Linked DNA regions of Homo sapiens: all the other regions are linked to region 1. Evidence: promoter capture Hi-C in human tissues and cell types (Jung and others, 2019). All regions are on one chromosome and are shown on one strand. Each heading gives the region's core, a stretch centred on a gene start or on the middle of the fragment in contact. The rest is flanking DNA. Distances are from core to core; before and after follow the strand shown.

Region 1 (3,882 bases), core at 702-3,201:
GGCTCTCGTAGTCCCTCTCTGACAGCACTGAGCCCTGTCGGACAGGGCAGGGACAGGGAGGGGTCAGGGACAGCAGGGCACAGCCTCACAGACTCCGAGTACGGTGCCGAGGCAGTGCTGCGTTCTAAGAGTCTCGGAGGGAGGACGGCAGAGGAAGGGAAGGAACCCGGAGCATCCTTTTGGAATCCTGGCTCGCCTGTGTCCCCCAGAACACGCCACCTTTGGCCTCCAGGCCGGCTTCTACCCAGCCAGCTCCCCCTCCCTTTCCCCAGGCCGCGTCAGCTCCGGTCCATCTGTTTCTCAGGAATCACCTGCGGGCCCTCTAAGCCAGGCCCTCGTCTCCCTTCATTTCCTCTGGGCCCTTTACCCTTCACCCCTTTCCCTCTACCCCGTAGCTTCTGCCTCTTAGGTTCCCAAGGAAGGGAAGTTGTCTGAGGAGCAGGGATGCACTTGGCTCTGCTGGGCACTGACCCTGGCACTCTCTATGCCCGGTGCCCTGTGGTCTGGCTCTTGCTGAGGATGCAGAAGGGAGCCCTACCCGAGGCAGCCCGGAATGCCCCACCCTCGAAGGGGAAAAAGGCAAGCATGAGGCCAGCGTGCCTCTAAAACTACACACCAGGGCTCCTGGAGGGCAGGGCCCATAATCAAAAGAATAATAAACAACCATCTGAATGGGCCAAGGCTGTAGGGTGGAGAAGCAGCTCTACAGCGGGACCTAAGCTGCCAACCCACGCCCTGATAAGGTCTGCGGTGGGAATTAAACCTTTTCCTCCCTCGGTGCCGCTTAGGCTGTGTGATGATCATGTGGTCCCAACAGCTTCTCAGAGAAGTGTGAAGCACACCTGAGTTGGCACAGAAGTGAGCTAGGCCAGGGATTGCAAGATGCGGTGGCCTGCCCGTAGCAGAGAGCTGTGGGGCCCTGATCCGCGGTACCCCGCATGGGGACGCTGTCACAGAGCAAGGCAGGAGGAAAATGTGGTGGTCAGTGACCCGGGGAATAGGAAGGGAGCAGCTAGGGTTGAGATGCCAGGCCCTGGCCAGCAGGTTTGGAGTAAGGGGTGTAGAGAAACAGGAAGTGTTACTCAGCCTGGGTTCCCCTGTTCCTCCCGATGGCTGCACCCCTCCCCTCTCCCCGGCTGCAGCAGTCCCAGCTAGGCCGGACTGCTAAGCCTGGCCCAGAGCACGGCTGACAATTCACGGCAGCCTCCCTGGCCCAGCCTCCTGCAAGAGAAGGAGGACCCCAGAGGAAGCCCGGTAGCCAGAGGGGAAGGGCTGGAGCACAGCCAGGTAGGAGGCAACACGGCCCGGCCTTCAGCAGCCGCTCTCCTGGCAGGAGCCCTCTAGGGTAAAACAAGGGAGGACAAGGAAATAGCAGCCAGGCTGATGGCAGGCCAAGAGGAGGCCACATCTCCCATCCCCAGGTTAATGCTGCTCTGCCAAGAAAACTTGGAGCCACCCTTGGCGGGCCCCCAGCCCAACCCTGGGCAGCAGAGCCCGCCCATCACAGGCATGGCGCTGCTCCCCATTAACACACCCTCTGCCCCCCTTCCTGTTCCTGCTCGTGAGGGCCTGACAGCGGGGCTGAGTCACCCATACCAGCTACAGGTCTCTTCCTTCCCCAACAATCGTTCCACACGCCTGCCTTTCAATTAACTCCCACCCGCCCCGAACTCTTCCTACCCAGACACTGTGGGCAGGGAGCCAGGCGCACCTGCTGGGGGCCCAGGGTGGTGGGGCTGTGATCAGAAAGGAAGCCGCGTGGTGACACATAAAGCAGGGCTGCCCCCACACGAGTCCCCAGAGGAATCTTAAGCTCCCCATTGCCCTGGGGTGTTGGTCCCAGCTGCCCCATCCCTGCACGCGGATGCTGCAATTACCCAAGAGCACGAAACCTGGCTTCCCACCTGACTGAGTCAGCTGAGAACAAAAACACATCTCCACCGCCACAAACAGCCAGGCCACTCATCAGAGTCCGGGAGCCACTGGCAGAGAGGGCACGGCCCCACACTGCCCCAGAGACATATAGGAGCCAGGCAAACACCAGGGCGAGTGAGCTCGGGCCATCTGCTGCCTGCCTGTGGAAGGAGCGCTCGCCAGCCTCACCCAGCCCGAGAAGGTCCACCTCTGCCTCCGCCGGAGCTGCCCTCATTCTGGCTCCAGTAAGTGCTGCTTCTTCCTCCTGGGTTTTTTTCCACTACCCTATTCAGTAACCAGGCCACTCCTGTCCCTGTGGGAAACTCTTGCTGCCAGGAACTCCCAGCTGTCTGCTCTCCTGGGCAAAAAAGTTCCTTCTTCCTGAGCCCTCCTCTCACCATCCAAGATGTGGTCAAAGGTCTGTGCTGAGTGGAAACCCTGAGGCCTCTGCTCCTAGGGGAGCCTCCCCAGCTGCTGGCACTCACTGCCCCAGCAGGGACCACATGCACCCTGGCTGCTCCTGAACACCTGTCTGCTGGCTCCCCTGGGCCCCATGGAGACCTGGCGGAAAGGCTCCTTCCGCAACGCCTCCTTCTTCAAGCAGCTGAGCCTGGGGCGGCCACGGCGGCTCCGGCGACAGAGTAGTGTGCTTAGCCAGGCCAGCACAGCAGGTGGGGACCACGAGGAGTACAGCAACCGAGAAGTCATCCGGGAGCTACAAGGGAGGCCAGATGGCCGGCGCCTGCCACTGTGGGGGGACGAGCAGCCCCGGGCCACCCTGCTGGCCCCACCCAAGCCCCCACGCCTCTACCGAGAGAGCTCAAGCTGCCCCAACATCCTGGAGCCCCCACCTGCCTACACAGCAGCCTACTCTGCCACCCTGCCATCGGCGCTCTCTCTGTCGAGTGCCCTCCACCAGCACTCAGAGAAGGGCCTTGTGGACACTCCCTGCTTCCAGAGGACACCTACCCCAGACCTCAGTGATCCCTTCCTCTCCTTCAAAGTGGACCTGGGGATTTCACTTCTTGAGGAAGTTCTGCAGATGCTAAGGGAGCAGTTTCCTAGCGAGCCCAGCTTCTAAATGGGGTGAGGGTGGGCAAAGCCGGGGTGACTGGAAGATCCAGAGGCTGGGGATTAAGGAAAGGACAGGGACAGGACTCCAGGCCCATCGCTGGAGGGTTCAGGCAGGCAGAGCTTCTTCATCCTGGGGGAGGATTCCAGGATAGGAATCCAGGGCTCTGCCTGCTCTCTGGGTCCTGGACAGTCCTTCCAGGCACCCCAGAGTGGAGGGACAGAGGCAATCTGGAAATGTTGGGGGGGCGGCCCTTCCTGGCAGGACCCTGAAGAAAGCTGGCTATGCCGGGAAAGGGAGGCTGTGCCGGGAAAGGGAGGCTCTGTGCGGCACTACAGGAACCAGGTAGAGGCTGGCAGAGCCAGAAGGTGGCACGGGGTCAGATCAGGGAGTGGGAGGACACAGACTGAGCAGAAGAGATGAGTGCCCCATGCCAGCCTCTTTGGAAGCCACTGTCAACAGAGAGAGGTCACAGGACAAGCTTGGGTAAAGGCAGTCCAACCCAGGCAGAAGAGGAAAGTGGGAAGGCCCAGGAAGAAAGGGGAGAAGGCCTGACCCTGTCTAATCTGGTGGCCACTCACTGCATGACACTGAATTGAAATAAATAAAATTAACAGTTCAGTTCCTCAGCTGCACCGTTATTCCAGATTCCACATTCCAAATGCCCGGTGGCCACACATGATTAATGGCTACCACACTGGTCAGTGCAGAATGGACGTAAACATCGCTGCACAAAGTTCTAATGGACAGCGCTGTCTAGACCATGGCCTGGAGCCACCAGCAAAGGGGAGGCGCATACAGGGGCTGGCCACATAGGAAGAGATAGGTAGAGATAGAGTATAACTCAGGAAAAAGACCAGGCAAATCCTTAGCAGAAATGAGGACGTGGCTCAGTC
Region 2 (3,620 bases), core at 777-3,276, 330 kb after region 1:
CTTGCAAATCATCTATCTGATAAAGGTCTTGTATCCACATATACAACTTTTTTTTTACACAGTTGTTTGTCAGTGTGTACACATAAAACCTACAACTCTATAAGATAAATAACCCAATTTAAAAATGAGCAAAAGATTTTGAACATTTTACCAACAAAGATGTATGACTAGCTAATAGACACATGAAAAAATGCTAAATATTAATAAATTAAAATTAAAGCACCATACTACTTCATACCCACTAGAATAATAAAAAAGACAGGCTAGACACAGTGGCTCTCACCTATAATCTCAACATTTAGGAGGCTGAAGTGGGTGGATCCCTTGAGCCCAGGAGTTTGAGACCAGCCTGGGCAACATAGCAGGACCGTGTCCCTACAAAAAATTTAAAAATTAGCCAAGTATGGTGATGCGTGCCTGTAGTGCCAGCTACTCAAGAGGCTGAGGTGAGAGGATTGCTTAAGCCCAGGAAGTCAAGGCTGCAGTGAGCTATCATTGTGCCACTGTGCTCCAGCCTGGAGTAAGACCCTGTCTCAAAAAAAAAAAAAAAAAAAAAAAAAAAAAACAAACACACACACACACACACAACAAGAGAGTGAGAGAGAGGGAAAGAAAAAGGGAAAAAAAAAATGTTCCAAACTCCCATTGTGGCGATAGTTCCACAATTCTGTAAATCTACCAAAAATATATTCAAAATATACTGAACTGTATATTTTATTTAAATTATGTGAATTTCATAGTTTGTAAATTGTCAGTCTTGGTAATATAAAGAAAAAAGAATGCTAAAAAATACTTTTGGCCAGGAGCAGTGGCTGAAGCTTGTAATCCCAGCACTTTGGGAGGTGAGGCAGGAGGAGAGCTTGAGCCCAAGAGTTCAAGACCAGCCTGAGTAACATGGCGAGACCTTGTCTCTACAAAAAAATTTAAAAATTAGCTGAGTGTAGTGGCATGCACCTGTAAACCCAGCCACTTGGGAGGCTGAGGAGGGAGGATGGTTTGAGCCCAGGAGGTTGAGACCTCAGTAAGTCATGAACGCACCACTGTACTCCAGCCTGCATAACAGAGTGAGACTATCCAAAAAAAAAAAAACTTTAAATTTCACCTTTTCAAAATGAGACCTAACGTGTACCCACCCACTCCAGAAGATTTCAAAGAAATTGGTTTTTAAAATACAACAAAACTCCCTTAAGAGAACAGCAAATAATTCATCTTGATACATGTATAAATGTAAAACTACTCTGCTTGGCTCCATCCCAAGCTTTTATTACAGAACAATTAATCCATGCTCTAGTTATTTTACCTGATAAGGAAAATGACACTAATTAAGGAGGTATGACTACCAAGTAATACGGAGTGATTCGAAATGAATGGAATATTTTCTTTTCTTTTTTTTTTGAGACAAAGTCTTGTAGCCGAGGCTGGAATGCTGTGGCCCAATCTCGGCTCACTGCAAGCTCTGCCTCCCAGGTTCACGCCATTCTCCTGCCTCAGCCTCCCGAGTAGCTGGGACTACAGGCGCCTGCCACCACGCCAGGCTAACTTTTTGTATTTTTAGTACAGACGGGGTTTCACTGTGTTAGCCAGGATGGTCTCGATCTCCTGACCTCGTGATTCGCCCGCCTCGGCCTCCCAAAGTGCTGGGATTACAGGTGTGAGCCACTGTGCCCGGCCAATGAATGGAATATTTTCAAAACTTATTCCTCAGTACCTATGTGAGTATGAAATCAAAAACAATTTGTTGAAGAAAGATCACAGTTAACTTCTAGTCTTACAATCCTCAATATATGCTCCCTTTTGACACCCAGTATACATCAGTCCTGTCAACTGATTCATCCCAGAAATCATCTTTGCAGCATATCACCACTGATGGCTGAAATGACAGCTGCAATGAATTCCCTTATGTCCACAATACCACCAAAAAAAGGTGCTGTAAGCACAAAATTCTCCACAAGAAGTCCTATGATGACATCTGGAGAACCAAGTTATATTTTTTAAGTGTTCAATTTTTTTCTTTATGGTGGCAAAAGACATAAAACTTACCATTTTAACCATTTTTAAGTGTACACTTCAGTGGCATTATATACATTCACATTGTTGTGCAACCATTACTACCATTCACAATTTTTTCTTTTTTTTTTTTTTTTGAGACAGAGGCTCCCTCTGTCGCCCAGGCTGGAGCACAATGGGGTGATCTCCGCTCACTACAATCTCCGCCTCCTGGGTTCAAGTGATTCTCTCACCTCCAGCCTCCCAAGTAGCTGGGACTACAGGCGCACCCCACCACACACAGCTAATTTTTGTATTTTTAGTAGAGATGGAGTTTTACCATGTTGGCCAGGCTGGTCTCAAACGCCTGGCATCAAGTGATCCACCCACCTCAGCCTCCCAAAGTAGTGGGATTATAGGCATGAGCCACCCACCCGGCTGACAATCATTTCTTAATCACCTTTTAAGATTGCTGGCCTCTCAATTCAGCCTAGTCTTGATTAGCATGTTAAAAGCTGCTGCTGCAATAACCACTTTCATCTCCTCATTTGTCTCTTATTCCCTACAAGGAAACTGCATGGCCATCAACCTGACCCATCTGTTATCGTCCAACTTCAGCAAAACACTTGATAATTCTCAATAACCCTTTTACCCACCTTCTACCAATTGTTTCTCATTCTCTACCAAGATTACTTCAAATCTTTTTTCCCTCTTCCTCAAAATGCTGAAGTCATTCCCCGCTCATCTTGGAAGAGCCTGAAGAGCAAATCATTCCATCCTCTTTTATTTCACCTTAGCTCAATAGTTTCCTCTTACTTGCTGTGATATTTGAGTCACCAACACAAACAGACTTTATTTGTAACTTTTTTTTTTTTTTTTGAGACAGAGTCTTGCTCTGTCACCCAGGCTGGAGTGCAGTGGCGAGATCTCTGCTCACTGCAAGCTCCGCCTCCCAGGTTCAAGCCATTCTCCTGCCTCAGCCTCCCGAGTAGCTGGGACTGCAGGCGCCCGCCACAACGCCTGGCTAAGTTTTTTTGTATTTTAGTAGAGACGGGGTTTCACTGTGTTAGCCAGGATGATCTCGATCTCCTGACCTCGTGATCCACCCACCTCGGCCTCCCAAAGTGCTGGGATTACAGGCGTGAGCCACCGCACCCGGCCTATTTGTAACTCTTAGTCAAGGTGATTCTCCATACTAGTACAAAAGATATGACTATTTCTTGGCGGGCATGGTGGCTCATGCCTGTAATCCCAGCACTTTGGGAGGCTGAGACGAGCAGATTACAAGGTCAGGAATTCGAGACCAACCTGGCTAACACAGTGAAATCCCGCCTTTACTAAAAATACAAAAAAGTAGCTGGGCTTGGTGGCACGCACCTGTAGTCCCAGCTACTCAGGAGGCTGAGGCAGGAGAATCGCTTGAACCTGGGAGGTGGAGGTTGCAGTGAGCCAAGACTGTGCCACTGAACTCCAGCCTGGGCAACAAAGCAAGACTCCATCTCAAAAAAAGAAGATACGACTATGTCTTATGTCACTTATTATGGGTTCATGCCCATGCATTTGCATTTTAAAGTACATACTGTGTAAGTTACTTTATTTATGTTTCCCCAATATATTACAATTAGGGCATCATA
Region 3 (3,520 bases), core at 80-2,579, 450 kb before region 1:
CTGGAAACCAAACAAGATATTGTGACTTTTTATTGGAGCAGCTGCCATCAACCTCCTGGTCTTTCATCCTTGATTTATTTTAATTGTACAGCTCAGCAATTCTCAGTGTGTGGTCTCCAGACCCCTTGGGGTCCCTGAGATCACTTCAGGGGTTTCACAAGGTCAAAATTGCTTTCATAATAATACTAACATGTTATTTACCTTTTTAACTGTGTTGTCGTTTGCACTGATGGTGCTAAAGCAATGGTGGGTAAAACTTCTGGCACCTTAAACAACCAAGGCAGTGACACCAAACTGAACTAGTAGTTCATTGCAGAAAGAAAGAGGAAAGAAAAGAAAAAAAAAAGGAAGGGAGAAAAGTCGTTTTACTTTAGAATATCTTTAACAAAACGATATCAATTGTTAAATTGTATGAAGTTATGACCCTTAAATAGATGTCTTTTTAATATTCCATGTGATTAAATGAAAGTACTCTACTGCATATGGAAGTATAACGGTTCTCTTGGGGAAAAGTACTTTTGCGATTGGGTCGTGAGCTCAATTAGCTGCTCTTTTCATGGAACACCAGTTTTACTTGAAAGAAGAACTGAAAAACCATGGCTATGCAGACTTGGCTATTTGGCAGATGTTTTCTCACATTTGAACCAAGTGAGCCTGTCACTTTGAGAAAAAAATAACTGATAGTGTTTGTTACCAATTACAAAATTTGAGTTTTCAAGTAAAAACTAGAATTTTAGAAAACATGTATGCACTATCATGAGCTTCCTAGATTCCTGATACTTAAACTTTTTATAATATTATCAAATGTGATTTTTTCTATTATATAATGAAATGTATCAATATTGCAAAGATATGTTTAATTCAGTGAACCAATATTTTCCAAATGATCAACGTGGGATATTATAAAATCATGCATGGGTAAAAGTGCCATTCAAAGGGCAAGTTAGATCAATGGACTTTAATGTAATTGAGCACAAAAAAAGTTCACTGATATAGTTTTATAGTCTACATTTCAACCACCATTTAAGAAAATACTGCTTGTTGGGTTTTGGTGTAGCATCAAAGAAAAACAGCCACAATTATCTGAAAAGGCTGTTAAAATGTTCCTCTCTTTTCCAACTACATGTCTATATGAGGCTGGATTTTCCTCATATATTTTAACCATAACAACAAATTGCCAGCAGATTAAATGTAGATGCAGATATGAGATGCCAGGCATGTTGGCTCATGCCTGTAATCCCAGCATTTTGGGAGGCCAAGGCAGGTGGATCACTTGAGCTCAGGAGTTTGAGACCAGTCTGGCAAAATGGCAAAACCCTGTCTCTACAAAAAAATACAAAAATTAGCCAGGCATGGTGGTGTGCATCCGAAGTCCCAAGCTACTTGGGAGGCAGAGGTGGGAGAATTGCTTGAACCTGGGAAGTGGAGGTTGCAGTGAACTGAGATCACGCCACTTACACTCCAGCCTTGTGACAAAGTGAGATCCTGTCTAAAAAAAAAAAAAAAAAAAAAAAAAAGTGGATATGAGGATCCAGTTGTCTTCTACATTCCAGAGATTTGCAAATTTACAAAGCAAAGCCACTCTTTTCATTATTTTTTGTCATAAAAATATATTATCTGCCCAGGTGCAGTGGCTCACGCCTGTAATCTCAGCACTTTGGGAGGCCGAGGCGGGTGGATCACAAGGTCAGGAGTTCGAGACCAGCCTGGCCAACATGGTGAAACCCTGTCTCTACTAAAAATACAAAAATTAGCCGAGTGTGGTGGCATGCACCTGTAATCCCAGCTACTCGGGAAGCTGAGGCAGGAGAACTGCTTGAACCTGGGAGGCGGAGGTTGCAGTGAGCCGAGATCATGCCACTGCACTCCAGCCTGGGCAACAGAGTGAGACTCTGTCTTGGAAAATAAATAAATAAATAAATAAATAAAATATATATTATCTATGTTAACATGTAGTGGGGCTTATTATTCTTTAGACAAATTAATAAATATTTTGCAAAACCCTTGGTCTTATTTCTAATATGTCAAATAAAAATAGCTATAACCCACATAAACAAAATCCCTTTAGATACCTCTCTCTCTCATATATACATACATATATATATATTTAGAGACTAGGTCTCACTCTGTCACCCAGACTAGAGTGCAGTAGCATGATCATGGCTTAGTGCCGTCTCAAACTCCGGAGGTCAAGCGAGCCTCCTGCCTCAGCCTCTCGAGTAATTGGGACTACAGGCATGTGCCACCCTGCCTAGCTAATTTTCAACTTTTTTTTTTGTAGAGATGAGGTCTCACTATTTTGCCCGGGCTGATCTTGAACTCCTGGGGTCAAGTGATCCTTCTGCTTCAGCCTTCCAAGTAGTTGGGATTATAGGTGCGAGCCACCACATCAGGCTTAGAGACCTCAATATTTAAGAGTGTAAAGGGATCCTGAAACTAAAACATTTGAGAATCACTGGTATAGATAGAGCAGTACTGTTACTGGCTGCCTAGCTAGCTTGCTCCAGGGATGCTATGCTATCAACCATCTTCAACCATGGTCCTCTACTGGCCAGGACTGCCCCCACTGCCACTCCAACTTGCTGCTTATTACAACAGTTGTGCTGTCTAGCTTCTATGATTTCATGGTCCTATCATCCCCACTGCTATCTGGAGCCAGTTCTGGAATGGCCTCTTGCTGTCAGGCATGGCTTACAGAGGACAGTCCAAACTCAGCTTCTCAGGGATGCTGGTACCGCTCTCACCAGTGTGTTCCTTGTTGCTTTGGTAACTAGAGTATCCTCTGGGCCTTCCTGCAGAACTTAAGTGGTTTCTGGCCTTACATAGAATATACCCATTTCTGTGAGCTTTTGAACCCTTCTTCCACATTCTGCTGTGGTAGTTCTGGCATTTCCATTACACTCTGGTGGCCATTGCCTTCCTCCTGTCTCCCAGGATCCTTGTCAGGATATCACATCCTGATTCACAGGAGAATACTCCTATAACAACGAAGTATCCCTTGTTCAACTTAATGTGTGGCACCACACCCCACCTTGATCTAGCCTATACATTCGCTCCTGGATCCTGCCAGTATATACTGGCTACTTCCGCAACTACTTCATGGTCTAGCCTTCTTCCCTAGTGGGCCCCTGCACATCTCTGACTGGGCTTTATTGTGATCTGGCTCTATGTATTGGGCTTGTAGGCCAGGACAGAGAGGCAGCTTCCTTTGGTGTCAGAAGGCAAGTCCCAGTGACAGTTGCAGCTGAGCCATCATAGCCAACACTCCTGACAATTGGAAGAATGAGCACCTCCCTCCTGAGGCTGACCCGGGTAGTAACCCCCAATATCCACTATAGAGACAAAGTCTAGCTTTGCCTATGAGACAGAGCAGAACCAGGATCAAGAGCTTAATGCCCTGGAGTCAGAGGTCTGAATTCCATCAGGGCTTTTGAATTCCAAGGCATTAGGACTATGTGACCTTGAGCAAGTTCCTGGCCCTTTCTGAGGCAGGGACTTCATCTATGAAATGAAGATAAAC

Evidence for each region. Contacts are between HindIII fragments. The study calls those that stand out against the background at their distance.
Region 2: a contact is called between a fragment that was not itself captured here and the fragment with the promoter of C15orf62 in region 1, in 1 of the 25 tissues and cell types used here (IMR-90 fibroblasts).
Region 3: a fragment that was not itself captured here is called in contact with the fragment with the promoter of C15orf62 in region 1 in 1 of the 25 tissues and cell types used here (aorta).

Annotation. Positions count from the first base shown.
Region 1 is chr15:40,768,029-40,771,910 of GRCh38, forward strand. It overlaps C15orf62 (chromosome 15 open reading frame 62), which reads left to right and starts at 1,952. Exons shown (of 1, transcript NM_001130448.3): 1 at 1,952-3,882. The coding sequence starts at 2,468. The coding sequence ends at 2,995. It overlaps DNAJC17 (DnaJ heat shock protein family (Hsp40) member C17), which reads right to left. Exons shown (of 11, transcript NM_018163.3): 11 at 1-34. RefSeq lists enhancers at 613-1,231, 1,850-2,468, 2,422-2,511, 2,469-3,085. The HindIII fragment of the contact is 9,899 bases long and covers 1-3,882 here.
Region 2 is chr15:41,098,703-41,102,322 of GRCh38, forward strand. The region is part of intron 1 of INO80 (INO80 complex ATPase subunit); the gene reads right to left. Among named protein-coding and RNA genes, the nearest start is that of INO80, 16 kb to the right of the region's middle. The HindIII fragment of the contact is 3,775 bases long and covers 140-3,620 here.
Region 3 is chr15:40,317,195-40,320,714 of GRCh38, forward strand. LOC112268152 (a long non-coding RNA gene) reads right to left here. Exons shown (of 3, transcript XR_002957721.2): 2 at 202-299. Among named protein-coding and RNA genes, the nearest start is that of INAFM2, 4.7 kb to the right of the region's middle. The HindIII fragment of the contact is 9,874 bases long and covers 1-3,520 here.